Regions from separate parts of the Homo sapiens genome. Here all the other regions are linked to region 5. The links are contacts of gene promoters, found by promoter capture Hi-C in human tissues and cell types (Jung and others, 2019). All regions are on one chromosome and are shown on one strand. Each heading gives the region's core, a stretch centred on a gene start or on the middle of the fragment in contact. The rest is flanking DNA. Distances are from core to core; before and after follow the strand shown. Region 1 overlaps LOC102724900 (a long non-coding RNA gene). Region 2 has its middle 150 kb from the start of LINC02554. Region 3 overlaps LOC105372981 (a long non-coding RNA gene). Region 4 has its middle 170 kb from the start of LINC02554. Region 5 holds the start of MN1 (MN1 proto-oncogene, transcriptional regulator). Region 6 has its middle 9.3 kb from the start of LINC02554. Region 7 overlaps LOC105372981 (a long non-coding RNA gene).

Region 1 (3,288 bases), core at 333-2,832, 460 kb before region 5:
CACCCATTTAGCTGGAGTGGATGAATCAGAACTTTCCCCATGGGAGCATTTATAAAAAGGGGACACCCAGCGCAGAAGATGTTTTCCAGGGAGATCTCGGGGAGCCCAACAAGCCAAGAAGAGCAGAGCAAAGCATTCCAAGGAAGGACTCTAAGTCTGCAACCGAGCACACACGAGGTAGGTGCTTTTACCCCTGCTGTGCATTCAAGGAAAGGAGATCCGGAGAGGTTATAGCATCAGTCCCTAGTCACAAAAATTAGTAGCAGACCTGGGATTCATGCCAAGACATGCTGATGCCCTAACCAGGTCTCTTAACCACACCACTGCATGGCTTTTTGCAAAACTGTGGTTGATAAATTTTCCCTCTTTGTTATTTTGTGTCCTTCATGCCGGTAACTAACACGGTAAATTCCCATGCAAGTTTATTTCAAGGTTAACACTTGCCTTTGTAGATGACTTCCCTTGCTTTCTCTCATCAGAAATCCCTAACCGTGCGGGGTAAGCCTGGATGGCAAGGAGCTTAGAACACAACTCAGTGGTCATGAGCCTGACGTCATTCATCACTTTGCATACCTTCAAGTTCTTCCAACCTCCTCTCTCCTTCAAAAATCTTACTTAGGGCTCTGCCTCTTCCAAGAAGCAGTAGCAAGTCCCCCAGCTGATGAGCAGAATAAAAATTTTTACAAATGTGCATACCAATGGAGTTATTTTAGAATATGCCCAGGCCTGCAGAGGATGACTGCAAAAGCCCCTACTATTGGTAGAGCAGTGAGAAAATTGGTTTCACTGTCATGCCTTGTGTATTAGTTATCTATTGACTTATGCTAATTGACTGATGCTACATTTTTTAAAAAAACCACAAAACCTCAGCAGCATACAGCAATAAGTTTGCATTGCTTGTGCATTTAGGGTGCTCAGCCAGGTGGTTCTGCTGATCTTGCTGGGGATTACTCATGCCCAGGGCTTGGCTGGCTGTTGGCTGATTGAGACTGGCCTCAGTGGGAATGATTCTGGCATCTCAGTTTGCTCCATGTATCTCTCATCCTCCAGGGTAGCCTACGCATGTACGTCTTGCAGTGATGGCAAGGAGCAGGAGAAAGAAAGCCCATCCAAACAAGCATATTGGAAGCCTATGTATCCCATAAGCTGACATCTTGTTGCCCAAAGCATGTCATGTGCGTGGTCCAGAGTCAGTGTTGAAGGGCTCTGCAAAATCACATGGTAAAGACTGTGGTTTCAGGGAGGAGTGAAGATTTGTGCGCATTGCTCCAATTGACAACCATGGCACTAGGCTCAGGCCACACTTCTTCCTAACAAGAGAGCAAGTCAAAGCGTGGTTAGTTAAAGTCCATACAAAAACTCACTTTAACAGGCCTCCTCTGGATTGAACAGCTGATATTAAGTCATAAGGTACCACATCAGAAAGATACTGGGTATCTTTGGTTCAGCAATTCCATCACCAGGGACTTTTTCATCCTAAGGAAATCACTGCACGGTGGACAAAGATATATGCATAAGGATGCTCCTTCTGGCCAAAGACCAAAAACATAACTGGCCATCAGTAAAAGCCAAGTGAGTAAACTATGGTCTATATATGCAATGATCAAAGAAATAAAGGAAAATATATAATTCTCTAGAAAGTATCAAGTAATATGGAAGGAAACTAGGCAGGGGAGGAGAATGGGTGTGGGGGCAACAAGGAGAGGCCAGAGTGAGAAGGTGAGGCTGTGACCTCAGAATGATGAGGTGTGCGGGGAGGAGATTCCAGGCAGTGGGACAGCATGTGCAAAGGGCCAGCGTGTGTGAGGGGTCCTGATGTCACCAACACTACCACTAGCCCTCCTCCAAGTCCTCTCCCATGGGTCACATGAGCTCATATGGTTGCAATCCAATTTCAAAAAGGTCTCCTAACTTACCAGGCTCAAGCTGTTACTGAGAGTCCACCTTGACTTCTCAGGGGTCACTCCATTTTCCAAAGACCAACCAATTAGGTACAAGAGCAGAAGGGCTGTGGCCAAACAGACTTGCTGGAATTGCTCTTTGAAAGGGTATGAGCCAAGATTTTTTTATTTTTTCTTTTTTTAGACAGAGTCTCACTCTGTTACCCAGGCTGGAATGCAGTGGCACGATCTTGGTTCACTGCAACCTCCGCCCTCCAGGTTCAAGTGATTCTTCTGTTTCAGCCCCCCAAGTAGCTGAGACTACAGGCACAAACCACCACGTCCAACTAATTTTTGTATTTTTAGTAGAGACGGGGTTTTGCCATGTTGGCCAGGCTGATCTCAAACTCCTGACCTCAGGTGATCCCTCTGCCTTGGCCTCCCAAAGTGTTGGGATTACAGGTATGAGCCACCCCACCTGGCCCAAGATTTCTAATAGGTGGGTGCTACAGGTTGAATGTGTCCCCCAAAGTTGATGTGCTGGAAACTTGATCCCCAATGCAACAGTGTTGGGAGGTGGGGCCTGATGGGAGGTGTTTAATGAGGGCTCCACTTTCATTAATGAATTAATGCCAATTATAAAAGGGCTGACTCGAGGCTGCAAGTTTAATCTCTTGCTCTCTCACTCTTTCTCGCCCTTCCACCTTCTACCATGGAATGACACAGCATGAAGGTCCTCACTAGATACAGCCCCTCAATCTTAGACATCCCATTCTCCAGAACTGTAAGAAATAAATCTCTGTTCCTCATAAATTACCCAGTCTCAGGCATTCTGTTATAGTAATACTTCATGGACAAAGACAATGTGTGAGCAGAGGGAAGGGAGTAACCAATGGGACCAGAGACAGCCTGGGATGGAGGAGAAGAGAGAGGTTTTGCAAATCAGTTGAGCTGGCTTTGCCTGGCCCCACCATTTACCCACTTTATGACCAAAGGCCTGTCACTTCACCTCTTGGAGCCTCAGTTTCCCCGTGAATATGAGAATCACACCCACTGCTAAGGTCATAAAGATTCAATGGCATGCACAGTACTTGGCACATTGGATATACTCAACTGATGGTAGCTAGATATTGTTGTTGCTGTTTCCTCTATCTCATTCTCTTTTCCTGACTTCATAGAACAAAACCACAATGCACTTCAACCAGGGCCCAAGCTTCTATTGAGCATGAAGCAGTCTTTGTTTTCCCTGAGCCCTCTTTTGAATTTTAGATTATAGGTTTGATTAAGGATTCAAGATATTAGAATATGAGAATGCAAGTAACATTCTGTTTTTCCTGCTTGTAGATATTGATTTTCTGCCCCCATCTTTCTATTCCATGGAGTTTGATGCCCAGGGACACATGTGGGC
Region 2 (3,715 bases), core at 633-3,132, 340 kb before region 5:
TAAGGGTACTTGGATAATGTATCCTGGTGATGACAGGATATGAATCTGGATGATACTTTGAAGTTCAGGATCCTGGATCTGGTTGAAAACACTCTGGAGGGGATTTCCAGGGGTGTCATGTGGGGCCCAGTGTAAGAGGCATCAGGCAGGTAACCAAGATAACCATCAGTGATGGGGATGGGGGGCAAAATAGGGACAAGCTCTGGTAGTAAACAAGAGTCCTGTGGTCAGACCAAGGCTCTGAGAGGATTGGAGGCCAAGGTCAGGCTGTGGGAAGGAGCTGAGGAATGACCTTTAATGCCTGTCCAAGGTGGCGTGGGGACTCTGGGAAGGGCTGAGCCTGCAGGGAGGAATCATGCTAAAGCTTATCATTGTCAGAGTAGAGGTTCTGTTCATCTCACCCTGCTGTGGATTTGCACGTGGTACAGATGCAAACAGTGCCTCTGTGGGCATATACCCCAAACTTACCATCCCAGTGCATGCTGAATGCACATGACAGCAAGCACCTGCAACTCCCTACCAGCACTTTTGCTCAGATGATGTGCATGAGGGCAAGGTCAGAAGCACCAGGAGTTAATGCTCCAAAAGCACCCTTCCAGTGATGGACAGGAGTTGGAGGATAAATATCTCAGCTCCCTCGCTCCCTGGGTAGATAACTGAGGTGTGTGTTTTACACTGGTTCTCAGACTTCCCCAGTGGGATTGAGTTCCAGCTGCTCAACGTGATAACCTGCTCATTAGTGCACCCTGGATAGGCTCTTTCCCTTCTCTGTCTCACTCCCTTCCTTCCCCACCAGTGCTTCCTGGATTATCCCCCTAAAATGCCACTTGCCTTCACATCCCTGTCTTGGGGTCTGTTTTAGGGAAGCCCATATTTAGACAGCACACATCCTGGGTGCAGGACTGGCTTATGGCTGGCTCTCCAGCCATTTAAAAGCAGCTTATCGTTTTCAGTTTCCATGTAAACCATTTGTTCTGGAAGCCCTTCCTGCCTTGGCCAGGTCTCCCTGGCATTTGCTCTCAGGAACTCATGAAACTTCCTACTTAATTTTGCATGACTCCCTTGCACTGGACTTTGAGTCCATGTGGGCAGGGCTACCATTGTTGTGTCATCCCCCAAGCCCCCAGCACCTGACACAGGACCCAGGGTTGGTCTAGGAAATATTTGTTAACTAAGACATAAAATATTCTTGTGTTGAACTCTTCCTGGGCACCAGACCCCGCACCTATTTCCTGCTGACTTTTCAGACATCATTGCACCCACTTTACAGATGGGGAGGTAGAACTCACTTCCCCCAAGGTCACTGTATTCACTATCTATGCCAAGTAACAAATTACCTCAAAGCAGAGATGCTTGAAACAACAGCACGGGTATCTCATGATTTCTGTAGGTCAGCCATCGAGGTTTACCTGGCTCCTCTGTTTTAGGGTCTCTCAGAGTCTACCATTAAGGTCTGGGGCTGCAGTATCATCCTAATAGGCTTGGCTGGAACAGGACATGACTTAAACTCACTCACTTGCTTGCTGGCAGAATTCGATTTCTTGCAGATTGTAGGACTGAGGGTCCTGCAGGAACTGGGACAGTTCCTGGTCACACAGGCATCTCCAATGTAGCAGCTTCCTTCTTCCAAGTGTGCAGGTGACAGAGAGAGAGAGACAGAGGCAGAGACAGAGAGAACAAGAAGGAATTCATGGTCTTTTTTAGCTTAATCTCGGAATTAACATGTCAGCACTTATGCAGTATTCTATTCTTTAGGAGGAAGTCACCAGGTCCAGCTCACAGTTAAAGGGAGGGAATACCATGATGTGAATACCAGCACGTGGGACCATTGACAGCCACATCAGAACCTGCCTGCCACAATCATTACTAAGGATCTGAACCCAGGCAGTGTGGTCTTTCTCAACGCCACAGAGTCTCTCTGACATAAGGGAGTGTGGACAGACCTCAAGGGTTGAAGAGGGTACCCTACGCTGAAAGAGAACGAAAAAGCCATTTCCTACTACCTGAGCTTTCCTCATTGCATGGAAATAATGGAAAGGAAAGAACAGAAGATTTTTTAAAAAACGTAAAAAGAATATAGGAAGCTACCAGCTTTCTCCAAGCAGCCTCAAAGACTGAAAAAAGAAAGCAAAAAAAGAAAGAAAGAAAATAGAAAACTACCAACTCTTCCAAGAAGCCTCAAAGACCAAGCAAACTGGCAGCATCTCGGAGTCACTTGGGCTGCCAAGAGGCTGCGACTTTTGGATCTGGAGAGATCTAAATACCAATCAGCTGATCCGAGGAACATTTTCCTCATTTCTTCCAGCATCTGCAAGCTGCTTTCGGGCCAAGAATGCTTCAGTTGGAGAAAGGGCTGTGTAGATTTGCCAGTGGCTGGCTGTCCCTGCAACTCCAGGTCCATCCTTATCCCAGTCTTTGGGATGGCTGACTCTGTGCTCACAGCTTAGGGAACAGGGACACATTGAATAGAAGCAAGAGAAGCAGAGACCATTGTGTTCCCACAAGAATGAAACAATCCATTAACCCTTTTGTTCCTGAGGTCGCAGGGCCAGGATCAGAGTGACCATTGACATAAACCTATAGGTTTGCCACACTCTTCTTTGGGATTTGTAATTATGACTAAGGTCCACTTCCCCTCTCTGGACTTCTATTTTCTCATCTATAAAATGACATTGACTCATGTTGTACCACCAACCTTGGAAGGAAGTTCCTCTGTAAGCTTGACAAACTCCTACTCATTCCTCAAAACCCCAACCAAAATATCCTTTCCCCCGAACCCAGGTAGGAAGTATAATAGTAGTTCATTTGTCTTATGATTCTCATAGTAATAATAAAAGCTAATATTACTGGAATGCCTACTATGTGCCAGTCATTGTTCTAAGTGCCTTACATAATTTAAATAATTTGATCCTCACATTGACCCACGAGGCAGGTGTCGCCATTACCTCTATTTGCCGATGAGGACATTGAGACTCAGAGGTTAAGTGACTTGCCCAGGGTTACCCAGTTAGTAAGTGGCACCAACAGTATTTGAACCCTGCTCTGGCTCAAGTCTGGCTTAAAACCGGTCTGCCCTCAGCAATCAGGGTCCTGGCCACCTTGCCTGGGTGGTTGATATTTGGGGATGGGTGTACTCTGTAGGACTGTGAGCTCCTGGAGAATGAGGTTGGAATGCCTGCTATGCAGCAGGCATTGTTTAACTCTGAGTCTCTCCTCCCAGCCCTGGGAACCACGCTGACTCCCAGGGCTTCTGGTCTCATTTGTCACACTTGCCTCTTCCTCAAGCAGAGTCCTTGGAGGAGCTGGGGGAGGTGTGTCGTGATGTGAGCAGCTCTGAAACCTTAAGCCATTCCTCTGACCCATCAGTGCACAAGCCAGGACCCAGAACATTGAAGAGAAAGTTCACACTGGTGTGTACAGGGCCCAGAAGCTGATGGCCAAGATGGCTTCTTCTAATTGAGTGGGGATGTTGAGGCAGAGATGCAGGGGCAGAAAGCAGGGAGAAGGAGACACATTGAAGGAGACACACACAGGGACCAACACAAGACAGAAATGTTGAGAAAGACAGAGACGCAGAAGGAAGAGACAAATGTCACAGGAGAGACAGGGACAGAGACAAGGAGAAAGAGGGAGAGAGAGAGAGATATGCAGGTAGAAACCCACAGGTGGAAGAGGGAGAGAATGAGTTGGAAAGGGGAAGGGTATAGAGGGGACA
Region 3 (3,437 bases), core at 33-2,532, 270 kb before region 5:
TGTGAGATTGAGAGGACTATCTTCCTTTTCAAATCAACAGTTAAGGTCCCAGGGAGGTTAAATGACTTTTCCACGTTCCCACGGCCACAGGAGCAGCTACGTGATTTGTGGGGCCCAGCGCAGAATAAAAACATGGAGACTTTTGTTCAAAAATTATCAAGAATTGCAAGGTGACAACAGCCGAGCATTAGGTCAAGCGTGGGGCCCGATGTGGTGTCCATGAGGACAGCTCTGCATGGCCAGACTGAGCCAAGCCAGAATGCATATCCAGGTCCCCCCAACTCAAAAGCCAGTGCTTGTTCTACTTCTAAACTCCACCGTGGCCTCGAACTTCACCCTGCCAATCCAGCAGTGATTGTGCTGGAAAATAGCATTTTCCAAAAAGCATCCTCTGTTACCTTAAAGAGAAAACAGATATGTACATGTTTAGGGGGATACCCAGTGACTGGTAAAGTTCAGACCAAGCCCTGCCCAGAAGTTGCCAGGAAGTGCCTCCACCTCTCCTGCATCCAGGGAAGCTTCCCCAAGGCTCAGATGGAAGGCTGCCTCTTTCCAAAAGTCATCTGTGATTGGATCCCTTTTTCTCTGGCATTCCTTCAATTATCAGACGATGCTTGCTGATACCTATACGTGTGGGTCTCTGTCCTAGGCCCTGAGAGTTGGGCACATACAGAAGGTGGGCCCCATCTTCAAGGGAGACTTGTCATTAGAAGGAAATAAAAACATTACACATCAACAGCAGGTCTCATCTATGCAAAAAATTAGACCTAGAACAAAAGACTGGAAGGAAGTACTTCCACATGAGGGGTACTCAGCCCCGGATGGTGGAACTGAAGAGGGCTTTCTTTGCGGATAAAAAGGAGTAGCTTGCCCTAGGGCTGCTATATCTGGCACGGGGACTTCTGAACTGGGGGGTTTAAGTTTTAGGAGGCAATAATGTTCAGATTTAGATTTTTTTTAGATATAGCTTTTGTATTTTTTTCCAATTTCCTATAAGGATCCTATCACAGTTGCATATTTAAGGACTACGAAATGAACGTATTTTAAGGCATGAACTGTGACTAAATGATGGGGCAGGGATAGGAGCCTATGTGTGCCTGACTCCCAAACTTGTGTATCACCTCGTTGCTCCATGCCTCAGTTTCCCCATCTGTTGATAAGGCAGTGGGATCTGCCACCCTTTGAGGTCCTGCTACCCTGACATTCAGAGTGTATTTGACACCATAAGCTGCCAAGCAGGGAAAACTGGGGTGGTTTCTGGCCATCAGAGGAACCCAATCAACTCCATCACATATGCTAACTGTACACCTATGATGTACCAAACCTGGGGACACCATGAATAACAAGCCCACATGCCACTCACAGCTTCGGAGGGAAACAGCAAACAAATGATCCCAAATGATCACTTATATGAGTCCAAGTGTGCAACCTGCTGCAGAGGAGAAGGCAGAGCGTTCTGGGATCAAAAGCGTGAGACTTAATACAGAGGTCAGGGGAGGCTTCCACATGGAAGAGGCACTTCGGGTAAACGAGAGCCAGCCAGGGGAAGGAAGGAGAGAAACGCACACAAGGACCCTGAGTCAGGCGATTGCAGCTCTGGGAAGGATGTCTAGAACAGCTGAAGCAGAGAAAACCAGAGAGACCAAGCTAGAGGATGAGGCCTCAGAGACCAGAGGGGCCGGTTCACATGGGCCCTTGCAAGTCACTGGCAGGATTCTGCACTTTTCTCAAGGGCACTGGGAAGCCATGGATGGCTCAACCTAGAAGGAGCCTGATAAGCTCATAGAAGACCAGAGTCCTCTGCCCCGAGCAGCAATTCCTGTGGGGCCTTTTGTGGCCACACTTGACTAGGTACTGGGGATGGGTTCATTCATAAATTAGGTTTAGCCTGAGTGCCAGGAGGAGGGGCCTCACAGGCAAGACGTTTGTTCAGGGTCAGGTACCTAGAACATTCCCTGGCTGCCACCAGAAGGCTCTGTCTTTACCAAAAAGTCATCCCAGGAGAGCTCACAGCCAGGTTTTATCACTGCTCTCAACCCCAAGGCCACATTTTTTCATCTCAGAGCCTCACACCTTGAAGGCCGGCAGGCTCAGTATAAAACATCCCAGCACGGAGCCAGTGCACAGTAGGTGTTTCATGACAAAAGCCACCATTCTTTGAGTAGTTACCATGTTCTCATGGTTCTGAGAATTTCTATTCATAAACATAGTTAACCATCATATTACTCCATGAGGTAGGAACCAGTATCCTCTTTGTTCTGGAGATGTCTGTCAGACTGATGCTTGGAGACGTTTCTTTTCAGGGCCAAGGCCTCAAAGAGGTCTCACAGCAGGTCTCCATCACAACCACCTGTCTTCTTAACTCCTTCTCTGCCCCACTTCCTCTTTACACATAGTAGGGCATCCTCCGACTCCTTCCAGAGGCCATTTGCACGTATTTTCTTGTGGGTAGCAGAATGAGGGTCACAGCCAACAGCAGGGTTAAAGTCCCTGCACATGGGCTGTGGTAAGGGTTGAGACAGCACTGGTAAAGCACTGGCTTAGTAGTTGGTATTCCATACCCACTTGATAAATGATGGAGGGTCCATGATGACTGGACCCTCACATCACCATTGAGCCAGGGATAGCTCTGTGGTATTCATTCCACTGGTCAAATAGGTCAAGGGAGGCCCAGAGAGCTAATGTCAAGCCAAAAGTCTCACAGCAAGATCAGAGTTGGGACTGTCCCAACCCCACACACAGGATCCACGCATTGCTCCATAGAAGTTTCCTGAGGGCAGGACCACATCTATCTTGCTTACTATCAATAGTACTAGTTGAGATGGGGGCAGTGGTTCATACCTGTAATCTCAGCTACTCCAGAGGCTGAAGCAGGAGGATCACTTGAGCCCAGGAGGTCAAGGCTCTAGCAAGCTGTGATTGCACCACTGGACTCCAGCCTGGGCCACAGAGCAAGACCCTATCTCTACAAAAAATGAAAGAAAAATAAAAAATAATACTAGCTGAATGAATAAGTGAGCCATTGCAGCAGACAGACTCTTCTCCTAATGTTTATGCCCTTATGTAGCCAGTCCCTTTTCCTGGCATGTGGGAAGAGCCTGTGACCTGCTTCTAATCCACAAAATAGAGCAAATTGACAAGATGTGTGTGATTACATACTTAAGATTATAGCACCCATCTTCCTGGAATCTCTTGCTTCCTGACAGCTTTGAAAGCAGCAAGCTGCCAAGGTGTAGGCTGCCTATGTTGGGAGGCCCATGTGGCAAGGAAATGTGGGGGTTTCTAGGAGCTGAAGGTGGCCTCTGACCAACAGGCAGGAAAAAGCTGAAGTCTTCAGTCCTACACCCACAAGGACCTAACTCCTGTCAATCATCTGCATGATCATGGAAGCAGATCTCTCTCCAGTTGAGCCTCAGATGAGAACACAGCCACAGCTG
Region 4 (3,712 bases), core at 23-2,522, 320 kb before region 5:
CTCTACTAAAAATACAAAAAAAAAAAAAAATCAGCCGGGCGTGGTGGCACATGCCTGTAATCCCAGCTACTCGAAAGGCTGAGGCAGGAGAATCACTTGAACCCAGGAGGTGGAGGTTGCAGTGAGCCGAGATCGCACCACTGCAGTCCAGCCTGGGCAACAGAGTGAGACTCCATCTCATTCAGATCAACAGGGGATGGTTGGAGTGTCCCAAGTCGGAATGTGGCTCCAGCAAAGAAGAAGACAACACTTGAGAGGTGGCTTCAAAATACACAACACAATGGCAGCATTCAAAGCAACAGTCACTGTTTTTTTGGTGTTGGGCCATTTTGGTTTGGTTTGGTTCAGTTCGGTTCGGTTTGGTTCAGATTGGTTTGGTTTGGTTTGGTTTGGATTGGTTTGGTTTGGTTTGGTTTGGTTTGGTTTGGTTTGGTTTGGTTTGGATTGGTTTGGTTTGGTGTGGTTTGGTTTGGTTTGGATTGGTTTGGTTTGGATGGGTTTGGTTTGGTTTGGTTTGGTTTGGATTGGTTTGGTTTGGATTGGTTTGGTTTGGTTTGGTTTGGATTGGTTTGGTTTGGTTTGGGTTGGTTTGGTTTGGTTTGGTTTGGTTTGCATTGGTTTGGTTTGGTTTGGATTGGTTTGGTTTGGTTTGGTTTGGTTTGGTTTGGTTTGGTTTGGTTTGGTTTGGATTGGTTTGGTTTGGTTTGGTTTGGTTTGGATTGGTTTGGTTTGGATTGGTTTGGATGGGAAATTTTTTTTTTTTTTTTTTTTTGCAGCTGTATCAGGGGGTCCAGAAAGGAAGGCAATGGGGATTCCTCTACTTGGGGAACTCTGCCTAGAGGGTGGGTAGATTTTCCAGGGATAGGATGGTCCCAGCCCCTGACAGATGCCAAGTTGAAGACAAGGGCACTGCTCGGAGGCCAGGTGTCTCCCTGACTGGGGAGGTCCTCCTGACTTGAGTCCAGGGCCTCATATGACTATGTCTAAGCACCTGTGACACACCTGGAGCAACACCCAGGAAGGCAGAGGGGAGGGCGAGAACCTGGTATTGACTGCCAAGTGCATGGCACAATGGACCAGGAGGAGGACGGTGGGGAGGAGGAGAGGGAGGAAGAAGGAAGAAGAAAACAGCAGGGAGGCAAACTGAGGCCCAAGGCCGTAAGGTGACAGCCAGGAATTTAGGTTCCCTAATTCTCAGCCTTTTATCCTCATTGCTTCTTTAGACTTTGGGTGGAACGTACGGGAAAAGATAATTGATGCTGCTGAAATAAAGTCAATAAAATTCTCTCTCTCTCCCTCTCCCTCCCCCCATCATTTAATGAGCACTTACTACATGTCAGGCACACTGACCCCCTCCACCTCTTTCAAGCCTCACCATTATTGTGTGAAGCAGTGGTCACAAGCCCCCGTTTCCAGGTGAGGAGCTGAGGCTGAGTGTGTTTCAGGCGCTTAACCAGAGGCCCACACCAAGCAGGTGGCCGAGCCATCCTTGCGGAGTCCCCCCGACTCCCTCCTTGCAGGAACTACTGAACTCCCCTGGCAGCAGCGGTACTGGGAGTCTGTCTGCCCCCCAGGAGACAGGCACAGGGGCTGGGCCCACAGAGAAATGGGGCCTGACTCCCCAGCCCCCTGTCACCATCCTGACGTTTCTCTATCTCCTCCCTCTCTTCCTAACCTCCTTTTTCCTTTCTCGTTCCGCTTATACTCTTCTGGTCTTGGCTCTGCCAGGAGCCTCTTCTTAAGTTTTTATTTTTAAATAACAGCTTTTTAAAAGCTTTTTTAAAAAAAAAGAAAAGAAAAAGAAAAACAGCTTTACTGAGATATAATTCACTTACTATTTAATTTGCCCGTTTACAGCACACAATTCAATCATTTTTAGTCTATTCACAATATGAGCGAAACCGTCACCACAGTCAGGCTTAGAACACTTCCACCACCCCACAAAGAAACTCAGTTCCTCTCAGCTATCACCCCATCCTCCCACCACACCCCCAGCCCCTGAAAACCACAAATCTACCTTCTGTCTCTATGGATTGCACTGATCTGAATGTTTCATAGAAATGGAATCATATAGTACATGATGTTTTGTGTCTGGCTTCCTTCACTTAGAATAATGTCTTCAAGGTTCATCCATGTTGTGGCATGTGTCAATGTGACATTCCTTCTTGAGGCTGAATAATACCCCATTGTATGGGTGGACCATACTTTGACTATTGATGAACATTTGGGTTACGTCCACACTTTGGCTCTTATGAATAACGCTGCTGTGAACATTCCTGTACAAGTCTCTGTGTGGCCATGTGTTCTCACTTCTCTTGAGTAGATACCTAGGAGTGGAATTGCCTGGTCACAGGGTAACCGCATGTTTATTCCTTTGAGGATCTGCCCCACTGTTTTCCAAAGTGGCTGGACCTTTTTTATTCCCACTCTCCCCTACTTTTCAAAAGTACCGTATATTGAGCCAGGCACTCATGGGCATCATCTCTTTGAATCCTCACCACAGTCTACCCACGGGATATCTAGGCATGACCATCACCTCATCTTCCAGATAAACTGAGGCTGAGAGACACAAGGCTGCTTGCCTGGGTCACTTGGCCGGTTGGTGTTCCAGGATCCCGATCAGCTGCCCTGCTTCCAACCACGCCACTGGGGCCATCCCTCCATCCCCAGTGGGGCCGCTGTTTGGGAGGCTGGGATGAACCACTGGGCCTGTGGCGACTCCTGCTCCAAGGAGACCCTCCCCCATGCCTGACAGGTGATCCTGGGAGGAATATTTACCCTAGGGCTCCGTCTGCCGAGTGGGAAAGCCCTCGGGTGCTGTAACTGGAGAGGCCCAGTCCTGAGGCTCTGCTGAGGCTGGAGGAAAAGCACAAAGGGTTCTTTGTCCTGCCCATTGTTTGCACTTGCAGCCAGCCTTGCTGTGCCCCTCAGACCAGCACGGGGCACGCTGGGTCTGCAGAGCAGCTGGGCTGTCTCAGGTTCTCCGGGGGGCCCCCTGGGATAAACCAGAGGATTCATTGGGGCGGAGGCAGAGGGGATATGGAAAATATTGGGAGCTTAGTAGGCACTCAGCGTATGGGAAATCATCCCCTAGACTTTTTAAAGGAGTCTTTTGTCCTTGGTTGTAAAGTCACCAGGCATATGCATAAAAAGGATGAAACAGCCCCAAGGGTATGGTTGTACTCCTCTGCCCACCCTGAGCCCAGCAGCCATGTCCATGCCTCTTGTGTGTCTTTCCAGAAAGTTTTTATGCTTATATATGAAAATGAACACGTGTGTGAGTGTGCTTCTTTTTTACATATAAATGGCGACTTTCTTTTTTCCTTAAGATTTAAATAGATTTTACTGCGACAGGGGAGACCCCACCAAGCAGGGCCAATATATGTGGTCCCAGGAGGTCAAGAAATGGTGACTTTCCGTATCCACTCCCGTCTTTCACTGCACGAAGCCCTCGGAAGATTATTCTATAGCAGTACGATGACAGCATCCTCCTTCTAGGAACTACATCGTCTTCCGTCTCTGGATGTGCCATCTTTTACTCAGCTAGTCTACATCTCAGGTGTTCCCCATCTTCTGCACACAAGTATTTGCACATGCGTGTGAGTGTGTGCTGCGAGCACATTCTTACCAGTGGTATCACTGGGTCTTGGGAGGTGTGTTTTTGTTTTTGCATGTGACAAACACAAGCAAATTGTCTTCCATGGGGGTGGCC
Region 5 (3,714 bases), core at 448-2,947:
GGCCCCTGGCTCTCCGCCATGTGCTCATAGCCCTCGGCGAAGGGCGGCTGGCTGCCCAGGCCTCCGGCTGCGCCGCCGTAGCCGAGCAGGCGACCCCCGTGCAGGCACGAGGCCCCGGGGTCCGGGCCACCGAAGTTGCCCCCAAAGTGGGGGTGATGCTGGTGGGGATGATGACTTCCCGGGTGGCCGTGGTGAGGCTGCTGGCCGCCAAAGAAGCCGTGCACAGGCTGCGCTTGCAGCCCCCCTGCGTGCAACTCCGAGTGGCCGCGCGCGTGGAAGCCGTAGGGCTCCATGTTCATGCCCAAGATCGGGGGTTCGCCCAGCGCGCTCATAGCAGGATCCACAGGGCCAGGGGGCCCCCCAGTGTGGAAAGCCGGGGCCTTAAAGTGGGTGTTCATGCTCAGTCCGGTCTCGTTAAAGTTCCTCTCGCCCTGGCCAGCGTTCCTGCTGTTGACCTGGGGCTCGAATTGGTCCAGCCCAAACATACTTGGCGGGGGGCAGAGGGGGATCAATAGGGCATGACAGCCGGCTCTCCGCGGCGCGCCTCCGGCCAGCTACTCGTTCCAGCCCAGGATTGGGCGCTCCGGGACGCTCAGCACCGCGGGGGCTCAGCGCGCACCTCCACCCCGCCTGATGTGAGGGACGGGGGGCGGGGTATTAGCTCCTCTCCTGAAGCTCCGATTCTGCCCGGGGAGGGCCTCTCACATCTTGCGAGGCCGCGGGGCCTCTAGGAGCCGTGTTGGGGGGCCCATGCCCCGGGCGGTTGTCACAGCCGCGGGTGGGTCTGCGGGGAGGGGACGAAGCCGCGGATGAACGGAGACAAAAAGTTAAGTGGGGGGAATGGGGAGGGAAGGGGGTTGGGAGAGCAGAGCGATCACCTTCTCAAGTCCGATTGGGTCTGCTGGGGAGCCCTCAGGACGCCGCCCGCAGCCTCCCGGAGTCCGTGGCAGAGCTGCTAAGGGCAGGGGAGGGAGACCCTTCAAAGCCGCGGCTGGCGCCGGGCACCGACAGAGCGGTCCCTCCCCCCGCCCCCCGGAGTCCCCGCGCCCCGCAGCCCGAGCCTCCACCGAGCACGATCCGCTCGCACAATCCCCGTAGGCTCCGGGCGAGCGGCTGCTGCTTCTTCAGCGGGTCGGAGGACTGGAGGCTCCGCTCGGCATCGCCGGTGCCGGCCCCCGAGCCGAGGACGCAGAGGGGCTGCGAGGCGGCAGGCGCCGGGGGCTGGAGCCGAGGGTCGGGGAAAGGCGCGGCTCCTCTGCTCGGCAGCGGGTGCGCTGCGTTCGGCGCGCAGCTTCGCGGCCACGTCCGCCGCCTGCCGCTTCTGTTCTCCGCCGTTGGGTGTCTGAGTTCGCCGGAGTCTCCGCGCACCGTTGCAGGCGCGGGAGGGCAGCGAGACGAGGGGTTGGGTCGCTCCAAGGCTCCGGTTCCCTGCCTCCGCGCTGAGGTGCTTCGCGAGTCCCTCTCGGACCTGAGGGAGGGGGGCGTACGCGGGTCGGGGGGCCACGCCGGGCGAGCAGGCTAAGGCGTTCCCGCTGCGCTCTCAGAGCCCGGAATGGGGGGAGGGGGGCGCGGGGGCAGCTCTGGGGGGTCTGCGCACCCCTCTCCCGACTAGCGGGGGGGCTCTGCGTGGGGCGTTCCGAGGGTCTCGGCTCCCCTCTCTGTGTCTGCCTCTCGCCCAGCGCCGGGAGAAGCAGCAACAAGTTTTGCATTTCAGCAATCAATTTCAGCCATTACATTTGCACCAATCAGCGCCGCCCAAGTTCCGGGCTCGGGGCGGGGCTCGCTCTTAAGGTGGTCCGGGGTCCTGGCTGCCGAAGCCCCCGCCACGAACCCGCACTACCCCAGCTCTGGGGTCCCCTGCGCCCGCCTCTCCTCGGGGTCCGGCGTCAGTGCGCTGGGGGCGCGCCCCGGCCTCCGGGCGCATCGAGCTGGAGAGGGTGCAGGCGGAGGAGAATGGCGGGAGCTTGGCTTTGTTCACCCCCTTCCCATTCACACTGTTCCCAACTCCCCACCCCCAACTGGAGCGAGACCCACCGGGTGGGCAGGGGGCGGGGAGGTGGGCGGTGAGCGGTACGGGGCGCTCAGACAATGAGGTCGCCAGGCAAAGACCCTAGACTCGCCACGGAAAGTCGCTAAGTGTCTACTGCACTTCGGCTCCGGGGTGAACACTCCGTTCTCCGCTAGCGGCGCCCAAGTTAGCCGGCCCTGGGATTTTCTTGGAGGGTAAAGCAGACGGGGAACCTCGAAGTTAGGGTTCTCCTCGAGAGACCTGGGCGCTTGCTCACTCCTCCGTCACTAGGGCGTTCACAATTGTTCCCCTTCCCCACTGCCTGGGGTTCCCGGTTCTCACCGGCCGGCGTGGGCTCCAAGGAGTCACAGTCACTCAGCCACTTTATGGGGGAGCACATCGGTTGAGCCCAGTAACCGGAGCGACTTGCGAGGCGGCTGGGAACCCCGAGAAGACACGCACGAAGAGGGCGCACCCGCCGGGCCGCACACCTTGCCCTGGGCCACCCGGTCCAAGACCCAGACCCTCTGCGGGTGCGAAGTTGGCCTCCTTAAGAGATCAATTAAACTGAAGAGGCCGAGGAATGGAATTGGGCTGTGATACTAAAATCAATAGGAGTAATTTAATATCTGCCCTGCTCTTTATGAAATATTTATCCCAATAATCTTAGTTAAAATGTTTAGATCGTCCTGATCCCCACAGAGGCTGAAATCTATCTTGCAATTAGAAGTTGGAAGTTAGAGGTGATGGAGGATAGAGGTGTTTATTCTGTGCGCCTGTGTGCGTGTGCTCGCGCCTGCGTGCGTGTGTTTGTGCATGCGTGTGTGTGTGTGTGTGTGTTCCTCCCTAAAGTGTGTGTAGGGAAGGAGGGGGGAGAAGGCCTTTAATTTTCCTTGCCATAAAATAGCACGAGGCGATTTTGCTAGCAGATTCGCATTCTTAGGAGAAGGGCGAAAAAAGAACTTTCTTTGAAGTGCCCCTGATATCGCTATTAAATCTAAATAAAATTAAGCGTGGTGTATGAAAATGCCTTTCCCCCCCCACAAAAGAAAGTGTTTATCGCCCGAGTCTGTCTAGCGTTTGCTAAATTACGCATGAAATCTGAAATGAAATAAACGTTATAATAAAACCAACCCCTGAGCCCTTTTTATTTAAAAACCTTAGATTAAGCACTCCACCGTCGCGGGCAGGAGTTAAAAAGTTACCATGTCGTACGCGCAGATTCATTGCTCCCCTGAGTTGCGGCTAGGAAGGCAGTGCTAAGTATGCCAGAACCGACATGCCGGGGGTGGGGGGAAATGGGCTCAACTTTGGGGTAGCGGCAGAATTCCTAAGAAATTGCCCCCCGCCCAAAAAAAATTTTAATTAAAAATAAACAAACAAGAAAAAACAACAACTTTAAAACTCAGCCAGAGCAAGCTCAGATCCAAGACCTTTCCCGGGGCCTTCCTGTTGTGGAAGTTTACAGACATATATATTTTTTCTTTTTTGAAATTAAAAATGAAAATTACCCCCATCAAAAATGGGGTCCATAAATAAGCATAGGGAATAAGTATTTGTACAGGGCGGTGGAGTTTTTAAAGGATTTTTCTGCAGGATCAGGTTGTTGGTCTGTGATTAAATATTGATTTTGTGTAATTAGTTTTCATGTGAACTATCCTCTTGCTGATAGCTTAGAGGTTTCAGAACTAGAAAAGAAATGGAAT
Region 6 (3,534 bases), core at 92-2,591, 500 kb before region 5:
CCGAGGACGGCAGGGAGGAGGCCAGGCAGGTGGGGAAGAGAAGGCCGGACCCAGGAGAGGCACCCACAGAGCTCACAGGGCGGGGCAATGGCCCCGAAATCACCCCACCAAAATGTCCGGCGTCCTTTTCCAAGATGCCCTCTCCTCACCTCCACTCTCATGAGTCCCATTTCAAGGCAAGTCAGCGGCGGGTCTGGACTCAGAGAGGCTGACCTTTGAACTCAGCCTCTGTGATTCCAGGTACACGGTTTAACCTCTTTGGGCTTTGTGCTTTCTCCTCTGTCGCCTGGGGCCCTAAGCCCACCCCACCAGCTAGCCAGGGATTCACTGAGAGGGAGGTGATAAAAGAAGCAGGGCCAGACGGATGCTGGTCCGGGCCCTCGCTGTGTGACTGTGTGCAGCTTACTTAACCTCTCTGTGCCTCAAGTTTTCTCCTTGGTAACTGGGGATAACAATAGTGACCAATCCCACGAGGGTATCTGTTTAAGTGAATTAATACCCAGAAAGCATATATGAGCACTCAGTATATGTTAGGAATAATTACTAGCTCTCCACATTTTTGCAAGAGTTGGATGAAATAATGCATGTAAAATATTAGCAGGGGAGCTGGAATGGATGAGATCTGATCCCGATTATCAGGATCAAAGAATGAATCAAATGCCCACACTGTCATTGCGTTCGGGTTGCTGGGCTCTTACCTCTCTCAGGGATCCCTCCCTGGATCCCAGAGGGGCCTCTGAGCCAAGATCGCAGGCCCCGGGATGCCTTCCCTGCAGGGGCAGCAGAAACCAGGAAGGACCCTCCCAGACTCATGCCTGAACTTGGCACCCTTCTCCTGGGATCCTGCCCACCCCTCGCCCCCTCCCTGAAGGTCACAGCACAGGGGGGAAGACGAATTAATTTCCTTTGTTTTTCAGAGTTTCATTTTTTAAATTACAGCCTTCCCTCCTCTCTAATAAATACTCAACAATTAAAGCTTTTTTTTCTCAAAGTGTGATTTCAACATTTCAATGTCCCTCCCCTCCTGTCACCTTCGCTGCCATAAACAGATTCGTAAAAACTGCTTTTGACGCCCCAGCTGCCATTAGCCACTTAAAATCCCGTAATTATCATCCTATCACGGGCCTGTTAACGAGCAGTAAAAATAAGGCCATTGAATATGGTAATTTATTCGTAAATTAGCCTAATGAGAATAGGTTTCAGACACTGTTTACTTGCGGGCTGCCTGCGCCAGGCCCAGGCAGCAGCGACAGGAGCTATGCCTGGGAGGGCGGCTGGGCGCCCACCGGGTGGCAATGCCCCCTCCCCATGGCTCTGCACCCATGGCATCCATTCTTGTTCCCTTCATCAAGATGGCATCTGGCTCCGTGGGCTGTGGGGACAAGTGACAGCCCTGCCTGCCCTAGCCTGGCTCCAGACAGTAAGATATGAATGTCAGGGCCTATGGTCAGTGCTGATCGCTACTGGGAAACCTTTACATGCTCAGTGACCTTGGGCATATCACTCTCTGGCCCTCAGTTTTCTCATCTGCAAAATGGGATTAATGTGCCAACTAATGAGGTTATTTTGAAGATGAAGCAAGGTAACATATAGAAATGCTTGGGACAGGGCCTAGCACAGAGTTAGGTGCTTTCTACATATATTATAGCCACTATTATGATCTTTGGGACGTTAGCCCCAGCAGATAAAATCCAGGGCTGGCTGACTTACCCTAAAAAATTATCCCTACTGGGCTGGGCGCGGAGGCTCACGCCTGTAATCCCAGCACTTTGGGAGTCTGAGGCGGGTGGATCACGAGGTCAGGAGATCGAGACCATCCTGGCTAACAAGGTGAAACCCCGTCTCTACTAAAAAATACAAAAAAATTAGCCGGGCGTGGTGGCAGGTGCCTGTAGTCTCAGCTACTCGGGAGGCTGAGGCAGGAGAATGGCGTGAACCCGGGAGGCGGAGCTTGCAGTGGGCCGAGATCACGCCACTGCATTCCAGCCTGGGCGACAGAGCAAGACTCCATCTCAAAAAAAAAAAAAAAATTATCCCTACTGTAGTGAGTGAAATAGTGCCCTCCCGCCCCCTGAAGTCACATCAACTTGGAAATTCATCATGTGATTTTATTTGAAAACAGGGTCTTGGAAGGTGTAATTAAATTAAGATCAGGTTGCGCTGGATTAGGGTGGGCCCTAAATCCAATGACTCATGTTCTTTTTTCTTTTTCTTTTCTTTTTTTTTTCTGAGATAGGGTCTCCCTCGGTCACCCAGGTCGTCAGGCTGGAGTGTGATGGCATGATCACAGTCACTGCAGCCTTGACCTCCCCAGCTCAAGCAATCCTCCCACCTCAGCCTCCCGAGTAGCTAGGACTACAGGCACGTGCCACCACGCCTGGCCAATATCGGGGTTTTTTTTAGAGACAGGTCTCACGATGTTGTCCAGGCTGGTCACAAACTCCTGGCCTCAAGCAAATGGGTGTTTTTGTAAGAAGAGGAGAGAACACACAAAAACATGAAGAAGAGGAGACAGACATGTGAAAATGGGGGCAGAGACTGGAAAGATGCGACCACAAGGTGAGGGACTCCTGGGGCCACCAGAAGCTGGAAAAGGCAAGGAAGGATGATTCCAAGGTTTTGGCCTGAATACCTGGGAGAAGAGAGGCGCCATCTTCTGAAACTTGGCTTTGGCTAAAAGTTGGGCAGAGGAAAGAGCCTGGGGTCTGAGTTGGGCTCAGCTGTACCGTAAACCAGGTGTCCAATGGTCAGTGGAGCTCTGCGAGGGCAAAGACTCTGTCCTCTCAGCTTGACCAGCATATGATGTATGTAATGAATATTTGCTGAGCAAACCACACACCAGGCACCTCGCTGGCCCTGGACCAGTTTGTCAAAGCCCCAGTCTGCCCACCAGGGCTCCAGGCTGACAAGTTCAGCAGGTATCAAAGGAAGCTTCGTGGGAAGTACTTTTACTTTCCACTGGGTGAGTCTGTGGCCTCTGAAGCCCAGAGGAGGCCCCAACCAGTCCGGGGGTCTCAGAGACGTCTTACTGGGCTTGTGGGCTTCATTCACGTGTTGATTGTTCAGTAGGGAGGAACTGCCAAGTCCCCAAGGTGGTAACGGAACACGATGCACACTAAGGCCAGCAAGTGAATGTGCCCGAGCCTCAGTTTCCTCATCTGTAAAATGGGCCCAATGATCTGTACCTCCTAAAACCTGGTGGGGCATGACTGAGATCTAGCACGTCAAGCGTGCAGTGTGGTACTAGGCTGTATGTAGCAAACAGAAGCTGCCGTTGTGGCAGCTGTGGTCATTATTAGCATTCTTAGTGATCCACCTCTTCCTCCGAGTCTGCAAAGACTGGCGGCTTGGCTAGGCATCCTGACTTCTCTGCCTCATCACCCTCTTCTCCCTCCATCCTCAACTTGTTCCAGGTCCCTTTGTCCCCTAAACATTCCACCTGAAACCAAACATGAGGCAGACCCCAAGACTCAAACCCTTAAGGAGAACTGCATTGTTCTCATGCTCCAGATGAGGAAATTGAGGCTCAGAGAG
Region 7 (3,354 bases), core at 360-2,859, 290 kb before region 5:
CAAGAAATATCCTCTTCCAGATCTAGTCTCCTCGGGGACGGTGGGGAGACTGTGGTCAGAGTGGGTCAGAGAGGGCTCTGTAAACCACCAAGTGTGATGCACAGGTTACTGTGGAAGGACCGTCCCATGGGCAGCCTTCAGGGGCTAAGTCTTTCTCTGGGATTTGGTTTCCCAACTTGTACAACCAGAGGATTGGACAAAGTGATCCTGCAGTCTCCTCCTCTGCATCCCTGAGTCCTTTTGTAAGATGACCACAAATGACATTGGTCTACAGGGTCCAGGCACACAGCAGGTGCCTACTAAGTGCAGAAGTGCTCAGGGAGTGACTGCCCCAAGCCACATAGTGGCGCAGGATCGAAACCCAGGCTTCCCAACCCCCAGCACCTATCTCCTTTCTCCTTCCCCCTGCCACCACCCCCCAGAAATGATATCTGCAACTTGGCTTTTGGTTCCTGGTCACCAGGGAACCTACTCTCTAGTGGCAATTGGTTTATTGAGCACAGAAAGGTCAGCTCCCTCATTGTCCAGCTAAGGAAGTGGCTGCAAAACACCAACCTTTCATCGACTGCAGGATCTTAGTAATTGGCATTGTTAATCTGCCCCGGCTTCTGCTTCCCAGGCTTGGGAAAGACCTAGCCAACTCTCCCAGAAGCTCCTCAGAGTGGGGCTGAAAGGAACAAACAGCATTTTGGCCAGCAGCCCCACTCCAGCAAACCAGGTTATTCTCTTGGCAGTCATCTCCTCCAAACCTAAATGGGGATACCCAATCTGATTGCTGGAGAGAGGAGTGGGACTGAGGGCTGGGGCTAGCACAGTGTCTGGGGCATGGTAAACATTTAACTAATCTTTTCCAAAAGGGGCTAGGAAGGAAAGGAGGGAGGGGGTGATCTTGGGGACTTTTATTAGTCAGACACTTGGTATGCACATTACAGAAAACCCAATTTGAACTGGCCTAAGCCAAAATCTTTTTTAAAAACATAGGACAGGGAGGGGCTATAAGAACATTTGATGGGGTGGGAGTGGTTGATGGAACTGTCTGATATTCCAATTTGTGGTAGTGGTTATATGACTATATGTGTTTGTCAAAATACATGAAACTATACACTGAAGAATGTGGATTTTACCATGAGTAGATTATACCTCAATAAACCTAACCCTCATCCAATAAAAAAGAAAAATATATTAACTTACATGTTGAAGTCTAGATATGCTGCTTTCAGGCAAGGCTTGGTCCAGCAGCTCAAACAATGTCTCCAAAGTCCCAATTTCTCTGTTTCCTCACTCTGCCTTCTCTGGTGCTTGTTTCTCTCTCACTTCCCTCTGAGGCATCCAGCAAGCTTCAAGGTGTCTCCTATAAGGAACACAGAAGCTCCAGAGTCTCTTGACCTGGTAACAATTTGACCGTATCTATCACAGAGATTATATCTTTACTTCTCACTCTTAAGTAGAAGAAAGAGGAAGCGTCTCTTTTCTAGAAATCCCAGCAGATGCCTTCTTGCATCTCCTTGGCTTGTGATGGGCTCTCATGGTCTAGCCTTGAACCAATCACTACGACTTGACAGTGGAAAATGATGACTGGTATAAGCCAATCAGGGCACTCCCTGCAGTGGAGAGTGAGTTCCACTCTCACTCTAACCCCAACCCCAGGGCTAAGAATAAGAGAGGGGTGATGCATCCCAAAGCAACAAATTAGTCAGAGAGGAGGGGGGAAAAGACAAATGCCCATTACAGCTTCCCTTGGAAATTTCCCAACCTGTTACTCATGGAAGTTCCTACTCTTCTTTTTGGCTTCTTCAAATACTATCATGCTATAGAGAATCTTCCCAGCCCCACTGTCCCCAAGCGTTTTGAATGCACTCAACCACACTTCATCAATTGATTGCTTACTACTCAGAGAAGCCAGCATCCAGGCCCCATCCAGCAGGGCTGGAGCTCTTTGCACAGCAGCACCTGCTGCTGGCACAAAACTAGCCACCCCCCTACACACACACACACACACGCACACACACACACACACCCTCCTGGCTGTCCCCGACCTTGTTCCAAGGGCCTGTGAGATGTGTCAGCTGCCCCAAGGGAAGAAGATGGCTTGTGGGTGAGGGACAGGGGAGGCACACAGTGGAAACATACCTTGTACCCTGCTCCAGAGAATCATACAGTAACCTGCAGAAAAACTGAGTCACAGAGTCCTGAAAGATATACAGCAAGACATGGTGGTATTCCTGGCCTTGAATCACAGACTCCTGGCTTCTTGTCTGCACCACACAACCACTGGCTCTGTGTTTCTGAGCAAGTCAACTTACTCTTCTGAGCTTTGGAGTCTTTACCTGCAAAATAAGATTTGATGATGTTCCCCAGTGGGCTGGTTGCAAACCAGATCAGAATGGGAATGGCCAGTGATGATGGATACCTAGCCTAATCATTGACAATATATCACTCATCACATTTCAGGAATGTGTCACGTTGGTGATCCATGCTTCTTTCACTGTCTTGATTTGGATTTTCCCAAAAGCTGGCCCCCAGATGAACAGCAGTTTACTCGGAATGTGCAGAAAGCCCTTGCTGAAGAGTGGGAAAAGGAGATAAGGAAGAAGCCAGCCATACAGGATGCATTATCTATGGCAATTACCACCATGGGCAACTAGGGCTCAATTCCACTGGGGAACATTGGGAGATTCTGCAGAATATACATCTCAATGTTATTCCACCTGAGTGGGGAGGGAGCTGGGGTATTGATACAACAACTCCATCTGTTAGCAGTTGAGGGCTTCCTGGGAGTGTTAATTCCCAGCCTCTCTCTGCCTACCACTCACAAGGACCAAACAAACTCTGGTGACCAGAAAAACCCTCAGACAAAGAGCATTTGGTGTTGGCCATTGGAATGGGCCAGGTGCACATAGAAACATTTTGTGCTGAGAGCAATGTGGGTGAAGCACTAAAATACATGCCACATCCTCCTCCCTTCTCCACCTGGAGAAACACTTTATCTTCTTCAAGACTTAGCTCAGAGTATAATTTCCTCTGTGAAACCTTCTGCTAATCTCCCAAGGAGAATGGGAATTTGCTTTCTTGCAGCAACTTTATCTTGTCTCTATCACAAACATTGCTTCCATTCATTTGCTGGACATTCCCTCAAAGGCAGCTGGGTGCCAGGCACTGTACGGCTCTCTGATCTCACTGCACTATAACTGTTTTTTTTTTTTTTTACGTGCCTGTGAGCACTAGATCATGAGTTCTCTGCAGGTGGGACTATGTCAGATTCATTTTTGCATCTCCAGCTCCTAGCACATAGTAAGCACTCCGTGTTGGCTGATTTACACTTCAAAGTAAAAGTAATCCAATAATACATGAAAA

What was found. Contacts are between HindIII fragments. The study calls those that stand out against the background at their distance.
Region 1: a contact is called between a fragment that was not itself captured here and the fragment with the promoter of MN1 in region 5, in 1 of the 25 tissues and cell types used here (dorsolateral prefrontal cortex).
Region 2: a contact is called between a fragment that was not itself captured here and the fragment with the promoter of MN1 in region 5, in 6 of the 25 tissues and cell types used here (IMR-90 fibroblasts, aorta, dorsolateral prefrontal cortex and 3 more).
Region 3: a contact is called between a fragment that was not itself captured here and the fragment with the promoter of MN1 in region 5, in 1 of the 25 tissues and cell types used here (heart left ventricle).
Region 4: a contact is called between a fragment that was not itself captured here and the fragment with the promoter of MN1 in region 5, in 3 of the 25 tissues and cell types used here (IMR-90 fibroblasts, dorsolateral prefrontal cortex and neural progenitor cells).
Region 6: a contact is called between a fragment that was not itself captured here and the fragment with the promoter of MN1 in region 5, in 3 of the 25 tissues and cell types used here (dorsolateral prefrontal cortex, hippocampus and mesendoderm cells).
Region 7: a contact is called between a fragment that was not itself captured here and the fragment with the promoter of MN1 in region 5, in 2 of the 25 tissues and cell types used here (H1 embryonic stem cells and spleen).

What each region holds. Positions count from the first base shown.
Region 1 is chr22:27,336,086-27,339,373 of GRCh38, forward strand. It overlaps LOC102724900 (a long non-coding RNA gene), which reads left to right. Exons shown (of 5, transcript XR_430432.4): 4 at 12-177. Among named protein-coding and RNA genes, the nearest start is that of LINC02554, 27 kb to the left of the region's middle. The HindIII fragment of the contact is 5,238 bases long and covers 1-3,288 here.
Region 2 is chr22:27,458,438-27,462,152 of GRCh38, forward strand. No RefSeq gene overlaps it. Among named protein-coding and RNA genes, the nearest start is that of LINC02554, 150 kb to the left of the region's middle. RefSeq lists an enhancer at 2,924-3,698. The HindIII fragment of the contact is 4,250 bases long and covers 1-3,715 here.
Region 3 is chr22:27,527,647-27,531,083 of GRCh38, forward strand. All of the region lies in intron 1 of LOC105372981 (a long non-coding RNA gene), which reads right to left. Among named protein-coding and RNA genes, the nearest start is that of CPMER, 190 kb to the right of the region's middle. The HindIII fragment of the contact is 7,230 bases long and covers 1-3,437 here.
Region 4 is chr22:27,477,838-27,481,549 of GRCh38, forward strand. No RefSeq gene overlaps it. Among named protein-coding and RNA genes, the nearest start is that of LINC02554, 170 kb to the left of the region's middle. The HindIII fragment of the contact is 6,915 bases long and covers 1-3,712 here.
Region 5 is chr22:27,800,059-27,803,772 of GRCh38, forward strand. MN1 (MN1 proto-oncogene, transcriptional regulator) reads right to left here and starts at 1,698. Exons shown (of 2, transcript NM_002430.3): 1 at 1-1,698. The coding sequence starts at 485. The HindIII fragment of the contact is 23,630 bases long and covers 1-3,714 here.
Region 6 is chr22:27,299,567-27,303,100 of GRCh38, forward strand. No RefSeq gene overlaps it. Among named protein-coding and RNA genes, the nearest start is that of LINC02554, 9.3 kb to the right of the region's middle. The HindIII fragment of the contact is 3,810 bases long and covers 1-3,246 here.
Region 7 is chr22:27,506,619-27,509,972 of GRCh38, forward strand. LOC105372981 (a long non-coding RNA gene) reads right to left here. Exons shown (of 6, transcript XR_938124.2): 2 at 2,131-2,327; 3 at 1,192-1,351; 4 at 556-667. Among named protein-coding and RNA genes, the nearest start is that of LINC02554, 200 kb to the left of the region's middle. The HindIII fragment of the contact is 3,173 bases long and covers 24-3,196 here.